Regions from separate parts of the Homo sapiens genome. Here region 1 is linked to region 2. Evidence: promoter capture Hi-C in 16 types of primary human blood cells and fetal thymus (Javierre and others, 2016). All regions are on one chromosome and are shown on one strand. The core of a region is centred on a gene start or on the middle of the fragment in contact, and the rest is flanking DNA. Distances in the headings are between cores, read along the strand shown.

Region 1 (6,116 bases), core at 3,412-5,911, 200 kb before region 2:
CCAAGGGCCAAGCTAGCTTTGAAAACCCTTCTCACTAAGCTCTCTATAGAAACTCAACTGTTTTGGATAACTTTTCTTCCTATTGCCCTGTTAAGATCTAGAGTAATTCCCAAAGGTTTCAACCCACCTTAGCCCTTTTGAAATTATTTATGGATGCCCCTTTTTACAAACGGACTTATTACTTGATCCAGAGGCTCATTATCTGTCTCAATGTGATGCCTCCCTGGGCAAACTATCCAGGCCACTACTGAATACCAGGATAAATTTTGTCCAAAATCTGACCCCTCCTCATCAGAACTAAGACCTCCTGTTAACCTGGGGACTGGGTATATTTAAAAACTTTGCCTCCAGACAGAAAACCCCTTCCAGCCCTCTGGACTGGACCCTTTCAAGTCCTCATAGCCTCTCCCACAGCTGTTAACTGCAGGGATTCTCCCCTTGGGTCCACCTTTGCCACATAAAGTCTGTACTGCCGCCAGAACTCCAGCCTGCTTACACTTTGAGCCCTTGGAAGATCTATGATTTTTGTTTTGCAAACAACCAGGTGACACTAACCTCTCTTCAAAAGCAAAGGATACCACGTAAGCCTTTTGCTGTGTTTATCATTCACTTTCCTTTCCCTCCCTTGTCATTCATTTCCTTATGTACTCTAGAAGCGTTTTTAGGTCCTCCAATTTTCTGAGATTATCCTCAATTCACTTACTTTTTTTTTTTTTTTTTTTTTGAGACAGAGTTTTGCTCTTGTCACCCAGGCTATAGTGCAATGGTGCGATCTCGGCTCACTGCAACCGCCATCTCCCGGGTTCAAGTGATTCTCCCGCCTCAACCTCCTGAGTAGCTGGGATTACAGGCATGCACCACCATGCCCGGCTATTTTTTTTTTTTTTTTTTTTTTTTTGTATTTTTAGTAGAGACAGGGTTTCACCATGTTGGCCAGGCTGTTCTCACACTTCTGACCTCAGGTGATCCGCCCGTCTCAGCCTCCCAAAGTGCTGGAATTACAGGCATGAGCCACCACACCCAGCCAATTTACTGTCTCTTTATCCAATCCCCATTTCTCAAGACCCACATACAATTATTCAGCTTGCACTAGATTTTTATTTGCAGGGTGGTTTTTCTAATTATACTTGGAGCAACTTTTGTAACAGTCCTTGAATTAGAACAATGAGACTCCTTTTTTCTTTCTTTCATGTTTTTCTCTTTATCTCTCATATAAAAACTTCCCAATCCTCTTGGTTTGACAATATCATCTTCAGCATCTCACATGCTATTGTGAGAGGAGAAAATACTCTGTGTGGCTGGCTTTGCCGTCCACAACCTGCTACTCCAAGCCATGTAGATTCTTCTTCGTAAGCACACCCTGTCTCCAATCAAACTGTACTGTTGGGATTTCATTATTCTTCTCACCACTCCTTCCCACCCCGACCATTTCCTTCTGTGCTGGTAAATTGGAAACCACCTCCCTCTTCGTGCTATCATATTACTTCCCCCACCATCCACACTTACAATATCACTGAAACTTCCTTAACTTGTAATGTTATTTTGGGAGGTACACCTTGTTATAATGACACTCATGCAGCTAACTTTGACTCATTTGAGGCCTTCGCCTCCTACAATCAAAACTCTGACTCTGGCCAGGTGCGCTGGCTCACACCTGTAATCCTAACACTTTGGGAGGTAGAGGTGGGTGGATCACCTGAGGTCAGGAGTTCGAGACCAGTCTGACCAACATGGTGAAACCCTGTCTCTACTAAAAATACAAAAATTAGCAGGGCGTGGTGGCAGGTGCCTGTAATCCCAGCTACTCAGGAGGCTGAGGCAGGAGAATCGCTTGAACCCAGGAGCAGAGGTTGCAGTGAGCCAAGGTCACACCACTTCACTCCAGCCTGGGCAACTGAGTGAGACTCCATCTCAAAAAAAAAAAAAAAAAAAATCTGACTCTATCTCATCACTGCCAATTTATAAGCCGTTAAACTGGACCAGTATAGTGGGGCTCCCAGTATACAGCACCCCTGCACTCCTAATACCTTCATGTATGTTACTATAATGATGCAACCAGTGCAGGAAATAACCACCGTGCCACCTGGTTTACATCCTATGCCATGCACTGGCACCCGCCTGCTTTTAAACCTCCTCCATCAGTACATAAACATAGTCTTTCCCCCATATGAGTCCTCTTAAAACTGTCAAAAGGCCCATTTCCTTTTTTCCCAACATTTTAATTAAAATAATCATCCTGCCCCTCCTGGGCTCTTATGGCTTAGCAGCCCCACTAAAAACTATTTAAACCCTTTTCAAGCTTTGGCCCTATCCCACCTTGATCATTCTCTTCACTATGGTGATTGTAGCCTGGGAACAATAGCTCCCACCCAAATCACTGTCTTAAACATCACTTCTAATTCAGAATTCCCTTCTAGAAGGAAAAGGGCCCTGGGACTTACTGTGGCCGGAGTTGTGGGAACTATCACAACTCTTACCCCTTGGGGAGGTTTTACTTACCAGGAAATCACAAGTAAGAGAACCTACCGCCTCCCTTGAAATAGCAAAAGCTGGCACCCATCTATCAGCTCTACAAGTCATTAGACTCACAAGCAGGATTTTGGTGTCTGGTAACAGGTGAGTTCTGGATTACCTCCTAGCTGAACAAGGAGGGGTCTGTGCTGTCATCAACAGGACCCGTTGCACCTACATTTATGTGTCTGGAGAAGTGGAAACCGATGCCCAAGAAATCATCAAACAAGCCAAATGGCTACACACACTTTCCCAAAGCAACCAAGACTGGGCCAAAACTTTTACTGATTGGTTTTCAAAAAATCACTTGGCTTCCCCCATTCCTTAGACCTTTATCTTCTGTCATTTTTCTTTTAATATTTGGTCCCTGCCTTTTTAATGCTCTGATTGCTTTTCTATGTTCTACATGAGAACAATTCCACCTGCAGAAGGCTATGCATTCCCAACACTGGCCTGCAACTGCAGCTCGATTTACATGGGGCTTCTTGATGGAAATACCGGCCTGCAACTGCAGCTCCCATTTACGTGGGGCTTCTTGATGGAATCCCATCACGTGCCTCCGTGCACAAGTTTTCATGACCCTTTATTCCCTTCATGACCGAGAGCAAGAAAGGGAAAAACGTGACCTACCCCCCTGAACTCCCTTTCAGCAGCAAGTAGTCAGGCGCACTGGACACCCCTCTTCACTGTGCCGTTTCCCCTTTCTTGAGACCCCAACAGGAAGCAGGTGGACATGAGCATGGCAGAAAAGGAAGGGTCAAAGATTTCACCAAGATATTTGTCAGAGGGAAAATGAGGACAGCAAAGATCACCTGGAGACCATCAAGCAGGCCCCAGGTGGGGTGGGTGGAGGGGAGCCTCTTTATTTGAGAAATGTAGAATGAATTAGACTTCCCTATTATCTAAAGTTGGCACCTGGTTCCAGGCCTCTTTTCAACCTAAAACTTATACATAACTAGAATTTCTATACATCTCTGGAATGCAGCATGCTGAAACTCACTGTGCAACCCCTGCCTTGTGTGTGTCTGTATACCATGCAGGTTTGCTTGCTAAATTGAGCCTGTAAACCAAAAAGTACCTCAAACAGGTCTCAATTAATTTAGAAAGTTTTTGTTGCCAAGGCTAAGGATGCACCCGTGGTACAGCCTCAGGAGGGAGGACATCCTTGCCAAGCTCAAGGGTGCACCCCTGACCACAAGGGCCCAAGGTGGTCGGGGCACAGCTTGCTTTTATACATTTTAGGGAGATATGAGGCATCAATCAATACATGGGAGATTTACATTGGTTCCATCTGGAAGGGCGGGACAACTTGAATTGGGGGGCTTCCAGGTCATAGGTAGATTTAAACATATTTTGATTGGCAACTGACTGAAGAATTATTATCAGCAGAAAGGAGTGTCTGGGTTATGAAATAGGGGTTGCAGGGAGCAGATGATGCCTTCAGGTAGCGGGATTTAGAGAGAAAATAGATGGTAAATGCTTCCTATCAGACTTAAGGTCTATGTCGATGTTAATGCTGGGGGTTATGATGTGGCATGGCCTGAACGTCTTCCGGGTTAAAGTTTAGAGCACCCTGGCGGACAGGGAACCCCATTCAGATGGTTGCTGGGGGGCCTTCGAATTTTATTTTTGGTTTACAAGCCTTCCCATCAGCTGCGCCAGGGTCAGCAAACCACAGTCCATGGGCCCAATCTGGCCTGCCACCTGCTTTTTGTAAATAAAGTTTTATAGGAACACGCCCACACCTCTGGCAGCTGCTTTGCAAGCACGCAGCAGGGTTGAGTTGTTGCAACATAGACCACAGGGCCTGCCAAGCCTCAATTATCTGTGCTCCGACCCTTTAAGAAACACTTCTCTCACCCCTGAGCTAAGCAGAATAAGAGGGGCTGGACGTGCAGGACTCAGAGTGGGAGCGAGGAGGGCTGGGGTGAGGACAGCTTTGTCACACTCTGTTTTTCTGTCACTCAGCCCTGGGGGCTCCCTCTGCCTGAGGGCTTCGTCCCCTGCTGCCTGGCCGTGACCCGCAGCACAAGCACAGATAAGCCTCAGGGAACAAAAGGCAGGGCTGCCACGGAAGCCCATCCACCAATCCTCACCTCTCACCTCTGTGTCCGCCCTGCTGGGAAATATTCCAGGCTTTGGCCAAGGCCAGTGCAGCCCCAGGTTCCCGAGCGGCAGGTTGGGTGCGGACCATGGCCTCTCACAAGCTGCTGGTGACCCCCCCCAAGGCCCTGCTCAAGCCCCTCTCCATCCCCAACCAGCTCCTGCTGGGGCCTGGTCCTTCCAACCTGCCTCCTCGCATCATGGCAGCCGGGGGGCTGCAGATGATCGGGTCCATGAGCAAGGATATGTACCAGGTAGGAGTGGGGGTCACTCGGGGGGCCTGGGTCTCACCCATGTTCCCACCCACAGATCGTGGACGAGGGAAGGGGGTCACTGCCTCCTCACTTGGGGAGGCGGGGAGCCTGGGTCTCACCCTATACCACCCGCATGCAGATCATGGACGAGATCAAGGAAGGCATCCAGTACGTGTTCCAGACCAGGAACCCACTCACACTGGTCATCTCTGGCTCGGGACACTGTGCCCTGGAGGCCGCCCTGGTCAATGTGCTGGAGCCTGGGGACTCCTTCCTGGTTGGGGCCAATGGCATTTGGGGGCAGCGAGCCGTGGACATCGGGGAGCGCATAGGTAAGGGAGAGGCCCAGGTGGGGATGGCCCTGGATCCATCCTTCAAGGCCTCCCTGGCCTCCCTCTGTTTGAAGCTGGCAGCCCCCGTTCCTGGGTGAGCGCTTACCCACCTTGTGGCCCTGTGCGCACGAACCTCCTGCCAGCCCACTGCCTCCTCCAGGCGGTGTCGGGCACTCATGAGGCCTGACTCTGATAGGGCTGGGAGCAGCACAGGTGCCCCGATCCCCCCAGTCTCCTTGAGCTGTTTCTGGAGCATGTGCAGGACGGAACTACAGGGAAGCCTCTGGTCCCAGCACACACTCCTGAGAGCCCCGGCCGCTGTCCAGGGCCCCAGGCACCAGCTCTGCTTTGTGACAGGGTGGGGTTTCAGAAGCTGAAGCCTCCCCTCAAATCTCAGCAGCCTTCCTTCTGGAATCTTGATGTGATACACAAAATATGGAGGTATGGGCAGAGTATTCGCCTCCGGAGTACACTTTTCTGGGAGAGACACAGGAGCAGGAGTGTGCCCTGGGTTTAATGATTGATTGTGGCATTGAGGGACATCAGCTTGGTGAGCTCCACAATGGCCATGCTGGTTAATACGCGACCGCAACAGCCAAGAGGGTCCCAACCCCAAGTCCACAAACTTTTCAAGGGGACCCAGGGTCGGCAGAGGCCAGGACCCCAAGTGGACATCAGGGCACGCAGGCTCAGATGCCTGTGGTATATGGCTTCCCTTTTCCCCATTCTGTCCCCTTGGCCGCAGGTTCTTCCCCTCCCACAACCTGGCCCTGAACAGCACACAGGATAGGGCAGAGACAGGGAGGGGGTGAGGGCCTGATTCCTGGAGTCCCCAGCTCCAACAGAGGTCAAGGCTGCTGCCTCACTCACCCCTCATCCTTCAGTCTGTCATCCATCACACCTGTGGTGTGCCAGC
Region 2 (6,491 bases), core at 675-3,174:
CAGAGATTCTTATCGCAAGGGAAGAGAAGGGTACACGGTCGGATGAGCCCATTCAGCATTCTGGCTGCCGGGGTGGCTGCTAGTCCCAGATGTCACTAAGTCATTACCATTTATTTACTTTTTAAGCATGAAATTAAACTTTAAAAAAATAAATATTTAAATTCAGGAGCACAACTCCCGCTTGAAAAGAAAGCTGTGGTGAATCATTTAAAACCAAGATTTGTCCCAGATGGACTGGTTTCACAGGTGACTATTATACATTGAAATGGCAAGATGGGACATGAGACATTTTCTGTCAAACCCCTGAGGCCTTTGTCCTGTCGGCCTGAACCACTGGAATTAAGTCCCACAGCGTCTTCTGGGAGCCCTGGGGTGGTTTCAAGCCCGCCCTGCTGCTTCACAGACACAGCCAGGCACTGAGCCCCAGGCCCACTGCCCTGCCCCGACTCCAAGGATATCCAGCCCTGGTCTCTGGCCTTTCCAACCACTGATGATGTATCATCGAATTCTGTCTGGCCCCTCAGGACTAGTTTATGTGCATCTTAATTTGGCTTAATCGTGGCCACATTGCTTTATTCTTGGGCTCTCTCCTCTCAGAAATCGATGAGTGCCGGTCTCAGCCGTGCCTGCATGGGGGCTCTTGTCAGGACCGCGTTGCTGGGTACCTGTGCCTCTGCAGCACAGGCTATGAGGGCGCCCACTGTGAGCTGGGTAAGAGGGGCCCTGGCCCCGCTGGGGTGACAGCTGCAGCACACTGGCCATGTGCCTGAGGCACTGGGTCCCCCGGACAGGTCTCTGTCTGGATGGCCAGGGTGGCCACTGCATGCTTTCTCGGGCCCCTGCCAGCTCTGACATCCAAGACAAAGATTTTACAAATATCCCTTCCTGCACCTCCCCAGGGGAGACTGAGAGCCCAGCTGAGAAATGCTGGCCTGGCTTCAGGGCGCAGAGAAGGTGGGCGTCGGAGAGGGCAGGTCACAGTCTCTGACACCTGGTCGGTGCTTCCAGCCAGTGGAGGGAGGGGAGGCCTGCCCCATGAGCCCTGCACACTCTTGTACCTCGCTAGGGCTCTAAGCCTGAGAAACGCAGGCTCCAGGGAGGGCAAGGCCCAGGGAGCCGTGCCCAGTCGTGGCCCTGGGGAGCCTCCCATTGCGGAGTGGCCTGGAGGAAGGCATGGCCTGGAGGTGGGGCTTTGCCAGCAGGCAGTGGAGGTGGCACGCCTCCCGAGGAGGGGTGGGTTTGGGGCTGATGGAAGAAAAAGCACATGTCCTGAGTAGTTGCTCCCAGCTGGGAAAGGGGTAACTGAAGCCCCAGGAAATGCACGGAATCCTGGGGGCATGTGGGCGCCTCAGACTTGAGCCAGCAACACCCTTGACACCCCTTCTCTGTGCAGAGAGGGATGAGTGCCGAGCTCACCCGTGCAGAAATGGAGGGTCCTGCAGGAACCTCCCAGGGGCCTATGTCTGCCGGTGCCCTGCAGGCTTCGTTGGAGTCCACTGTGAGACAGGTAGGGGCTCCCTCCAGTGGGCCCCACATGCAGAGCCTGGGCCTCTGGAAGATCAGAGAGGAGGTGGGGCATCCCCACATTCCCTGCTGGGCAGGCCACCTGGGGAGAGGGACCCCCAGGGCTGCGGCCACCTTGGGAGGGAGGGGTGGAGGTGAGGGTGCTGGGGAGGGCTGAGGGGCGGGACCTGCCCACTGCCCCTCTCTCCTGGCCTCCGCCCCTAGACTCCTCCTTTCCCTTCTTCCCGCTGTCCTCTCCTCCCTCCCCCAGACTCCCCCCTTGCAGCTTGGGCCCACTCTCTGGGTGTTCTCCAGAGGTGGACGCCTGCGACTCCAGCCCCTGCCAGCATGGAGGCCGGTGTGAGAGCGGCGGCGGGGCCTACCTGTGCGTCTGCCCAGAGAGCTTCTTCGGCTACCACTGCGAGACAGGTAGGGCGGCAGGCCTGCCTGCTCCCCGCCCTCTGCCCGCCTGCTCCCCGCCCTCTGCCCGCCTGCTGCCCGCCCTCTGCCCGCCTGCTCCCCGCCCTCTGCCCGCCTGCTCCCCGCCCTCTGCCCGCCGCCTTGGAAGTCCCCTTCTCAGGCCAGTGGCCCTCCGCCTGTCTCCCTTGGTCCCACAATGGTGCCTTCTAAACCTCCCCATCTCCTGCGCTCACCCCCCAGACACCCCTCTTCACCCGAGGACACACCCAGGGGTGGGGCCTCACGTCCACACATAGGCCCTGCTGCCCTTGGACAGGCCAAGTTTCTTGCACACCCAGGTCTGGCCCCTGGCTGTCCTTCCATCTGGAACATTCTCCCTAATCAGCCCCCAGTGGGATACCTCCTGATGAGGCTTCCCTGACCACTGACCTCCCCTCCTCAAGCAGGACTGTCACTGGGGTGGTGGCCTGTCCTGTCCTGATCCAGTGTCTCCTCCCCTCAGCCAGTCCGGCTGGTGGCACTCCGCTGTGGAGGGTGGAGGAGCTGCTGGGTTGGGCCCCGCAGGGCAGTGGAGGTGGCAGAACCGAAGGGAGGCAGTAGCTGTCCTGTGCCCCCCGCCCCTCCACACCCACGCAGGAGGGACCCAGTGCCCCAGGAGCAAGGGCGGGGCTGGAGCAGGGACCCCTGGCCACGCCCCAACATACACTGCCACTTTTTCTCCCCTCAGTGAGTGACCCCTGCTTCTCCAGCCCCTGTGGGGGCCGTGGCTATTGCCTGGCCAGCAACGGCTCCCACAGCTGCACCTGCAAAGTGGGCTACACGGGCGAGGACTGCGCCAAAGGTGGGTGGCGAGGGCGCCTCCAGTGAGGGAGCCACGAGGGGGTCCCCTCTCCCTAGAGGGCCCAACGGTCTCCAAGGGCAGAGCGTCTGGCCGCTGCTTGCCCAGGCCCCTTCCCTGAGGAACAGGGAGGGGATAAAATCCCCCGGTGGGCTTGAAACACGGTCACACATTCAAAAGTGTGACCCTCCTGGAGGTACGTGGCCAGGGACAAAGAAGGACTCTGCCAGCGATGGCTGTGTCAGGCCCAAGAGCCAGACCCGGCTGAGCCGCCGACGGGAGCCAGGCATGCATAGCTAACGGCTGACCAGTCCCCTCCCCTTGTTTTGACCCAAACCCTGAAGAGCTCTTCCCACCGACGGCCCTCAAGATGGAGAGAGTGGAGGAGAGTGGGGTCTCTATCTCCTGGAACCCGCCCAATGGTCCAGCCGCCAGGCAGATGCTTGATGGCTACGCGGTCACCTACGTCTCCTCCGACGGCTCCTACCGCCGCACAGACTTTGTGGACAGGACCCGCTCCTCGCACCAGCTCCAGGCCCTGGCGGCCGGCAGGGCCTACAACATCTCCGTCTTCTCAGTGAAGCGAAACAGTAACAACAAGAATGACATCAGCAGGCCTGCCGTGCTGCTGGCCCGCACGCGTGAGTGTCCCCGAGCCTGGCCGTCCCTGCCCAGCCCCTGCCCCTCGAGGGCAGCGCTGGCCCCGGCACCTGCAGGGCGGCTGTCATGCCGTCCACCCTCCTAGTTCTTGCAGCAGCAAGACAGACAGCTGAGCTGGGGGTTGGAGGCACCGCCCTGCTGGAGACAGAGCTGTGTGGGAGTGGCCTTGGGTCCACAAGATACAGGCATGGGATTGGGGCGCATAGAATCGAGCCAAGAGTGGGAGCAGCACAACCCCCAGGCATGGAGCTAGGAAGTGGGACTGGGGAGGAATGGGGGCTTCCCAAAAGGGTCCCTAGAAGGAGCCAGTGTGGGAGACAGGGGCCGCGGGGGTGGGCTTGGGGGGGCTGGGACTCTGGGGTGCTCTGAAGGCCTGGGGAGAGTTTGAAAGAGGCACCTGCTCACAGGGATATGTAGGCGCTGAGGTGTGCTAAGGGGAGGCATCGGTGGCTCAATCGGGAAGAGCCGTGGGGCAGGCCCTAGATGGAATGACAGACCCAGAGCCTCCACCTGGAGCTGGCACTGAAAGCTGTGACCAGATGTGACCCCTGAAGAGGGGGTCCTAGGAGGAGCCTCCTCAGAGCCTGAGCCACCAAGATTGCAGGGGAGGCCCGGGTTGTGCACAGCCTGTGGGGTTGTTGCCGTGTCGGGGAGCAGAAGATGCTGAGCGCTCTAGGGAAGGCGTCAGGGCTTAGCGGGCTTGTGTGCTGCTGGGAGGGATTCTGGGAAGGAGAAAGGAGCCCTAGAACATGGCAGTGGACGGACAGGGGCAGGGCCGGAAGAAAGCAGAGGGCTGGCCTTCCACGGAGCCCGGCCGCATCAGCTAGAGCACAGGGGATCTCGGAACAGGCTGGGCAGGAACCAAGTGGGGTGCAGGGCCATGGGGCCATGGGACTCTCACCCAACATGCCTGTGGCCTCCAGACACAGGAGCAAGAATGGGGAAGGGGTGCTAGAGGCTCGAGGAAAGAGGAAAAGGTGCTGAGAGCACAGACTGCTGCGAAGTGGCGTGATGGATGGATGGGTGGGTGGGTGGCCAGGGCTTCAGGGAGGCCTAAGCATCCAGCAGGGCCCTGCGGGGCGGCCACGTGAGTTTGGTGAAACCTATGGGTAGCATGGCGGGTAGGTGGGGAGGAGCTCGGCGGTTCTCACAGGAGGAAAGCCTCCTGGCCACACCTGGGCCCTAGCTTGATGCCAATGCCAAGGGCATTGAGGGACAGGAGAAGGCATTCAAGGCAGCTTGAGCCCACCCAGAGGCCCACAAGGGCCTGTCCTGCAGGAGTTGACCACCAAGGGGCTGGAGTTCCCAACACAGCAAGGACACAGAGCACACCTCGGCCAGTGGAGAGCCTGGGCGCATGTGCGGGTGGCACTGAGCAGGTGTCAGCAGGAGCTGCCAGGGGCTGAGTAGGGGTGGCTCGCCTGGGCTGTTTTAGGAAGAAGCACCTGCAAGGCCGCCCCATGTGAGATCTGCCCTCGGAAGGTATCTGGAGTGAAGACAGAGCCCGCCCTGCCCGCTGCAGAGTTGGGGCTCCAGCCAGCCATGGTGGGTGGAAGGGACCGCTGTCCACAGACCGGGGTGCTGAGTTGCCGGGAGCTGAGCGCTGCCCTCTGGGCTCTGCCTGGTGCATCAGCAGTGGCACTGGAGCTTCGGAGGAGACTGGCTGGGCGGGAAGCGGAGCTCACAAGTGGCCCCTTCCCTGCAGTTGCTGGGAGTTCTGTATGTCTGTCCTCCTAAGACAGCGTTGCCCAGACCAGGCCCGGATGTGTGCTCTTAGACCAAAATAGTCAACTGGCACAGAAAAGGGGAGGTCCGGGTTACTCATGTCCAGAGGGACTCCGGCCCATCCCCTGCCATGTCACTGCCACATCTAAATGGAGACTAAGACCCCTGCCTCTGGTAAGACGGGCTGGCCCACAGCGGGCTCTGCAGCCGTCATGCTCACAGCGGGTTCTGCAGCTGTCAGCCCTGGAGGCCAGAGCCTGGGCATCCCACTCAGCCCGAGTTCCCTGAGCAGTTGATGGGACACCCTCTCCAGTGCCTCTCTGTGGCCCCCAGCACCCTCCCAAGCCTGGTTTCATCTTGAGCCCCTGCACTCCCCCAGGAGCAAGGAGGGGCCGGCACCTGCTGAACAGTCCATTCCCCCTAGGACCCCGCCCTGTGGAAGGCTTCGAGGTCACCAATGTGACGGCTAGCACCATCTCAGTGCAGTGGGCCCTGCACAGGATCCGCCATGCCACCGTCAGTGGGGTCCGTGTGTCCATCCGCCACCCTGAGGCCCTCAGGGACCAGGCCACCGATGTGGACAGGAGTGTGGACAGGTTCACCTTTAGGTAAGAAGGGACACCCAGAGCATGGGGCTGGGGTGAAGGCAGGGGTGGGGGCTCGGGGACACGGGGCCCAGGTCTCGGGCACATTCTCCGTGTGTGGACTGTACCACCTGCCGCTCCTCACCTGAGCGGAGACAAAGGTCTCAGGTGAGCCAGCCTCAGACCCTGGAGGCTTCACTCCCGCCTCACCTCATCAGGGCTGCCAAGAGAGGATACACCTTGGTAGTGTTTTAAAGTGTCCAAAAAGAGCAGGAAAAGCTCAGAAAATCCGGGGGCACACTTTCCACACAGATCATGAGAGTGACTTGGCCCCTCAGAGAGCAGCGGCCAGCGAGGGTAGATGGTAGCAGCCCCGAGCTCTCCCAGGAGTCCCACAGTGGACCCCTCAGAGAGCAGCGGCCAGCGAGGGTAGATGGTAGCAGCCCCGAGCTCTCCCAGGAGTCCCACAGTGGACCCCTGTGATTTGGTCGCCAACCAAAGAGAAAGCTTCCGAATCGTGCTCAGCGCAGGCAGGGGTGCAGGAAAAGATCGGAGAGCGAGTGGGAAGGAAGACTCCAGCCAGCAGCTTCCTGGGGCTGGGGTGGCATTGGCCTCACGTTGTCCTGTGGTTTCCTGAGAATTTACATCAACTCACCTGTGCTGAGGGCCCGTCCCCCATCCCTGCACAGTGACCACTTCCCCCTTCTCTGGCCTCTCCCAGCTGAACACCGGCCCTCTGACCATACTGTAGCAGCCCCAAG

Evidence for each region. The method cuts DNA at HindIII sites, captures the fragments that hold promoters and counts their contacts. A CHiCAGO score of 5 or more calls a contact.
Region 1: a contact is called between the fragment with the promoter of AGXT here and the fragment with the promoter of SNED1-AS1 in region 2, in 1 of 17 cell types (M2 macrophages). The highest score is 5.7, in M2 macrophages.

Annotation. Positions count from the first base shown.
Region 1 is chr2:240,864,163-240,870,278 of GRCh38, forward strand. AGXT (alanine--glyoxylate aminotransferase) reads left to right here and starts at 4,662. Exons shown (of 11, transcript NM_000030.3): 1 at 4,662-4,868; 2 at 5,008-5,200. The coding sequence starts at 4,704. RefSeq lists an enhancer at 4,181-4,681. The HindIII fragment of the contact is 16,005 bases long and covers 2,298-6,116 here.
Region 2 is chr2:241,062,194-241,068,684 of GRCh38, forward strand. It overlaps SNED1-AS1 (SNED1 antisense RNA 1), which reads right to left and starts at 1,925. Exons shown (of 3, transcript NR_187212.1): 1 at 1,887-1,925. SNED1 (sushi, nidogen and EGF like domains 1) reads left to right here. Exons shown (of 32, transcript NM_001080437.3): 17 at 598-711; 18 at 1,394-1,507; 19 at 1,819-1,932; 20 at 2,651-2,764; 21 at 3,106-3,402; 22 at 5,571-5,754. It also overlaps a transcript of MTERF4 not described here. RefSeq lists a silencer at 1,874-2,033. The HindIII fragment of the contact is 14,458 bases long and covers 1-6,235 here.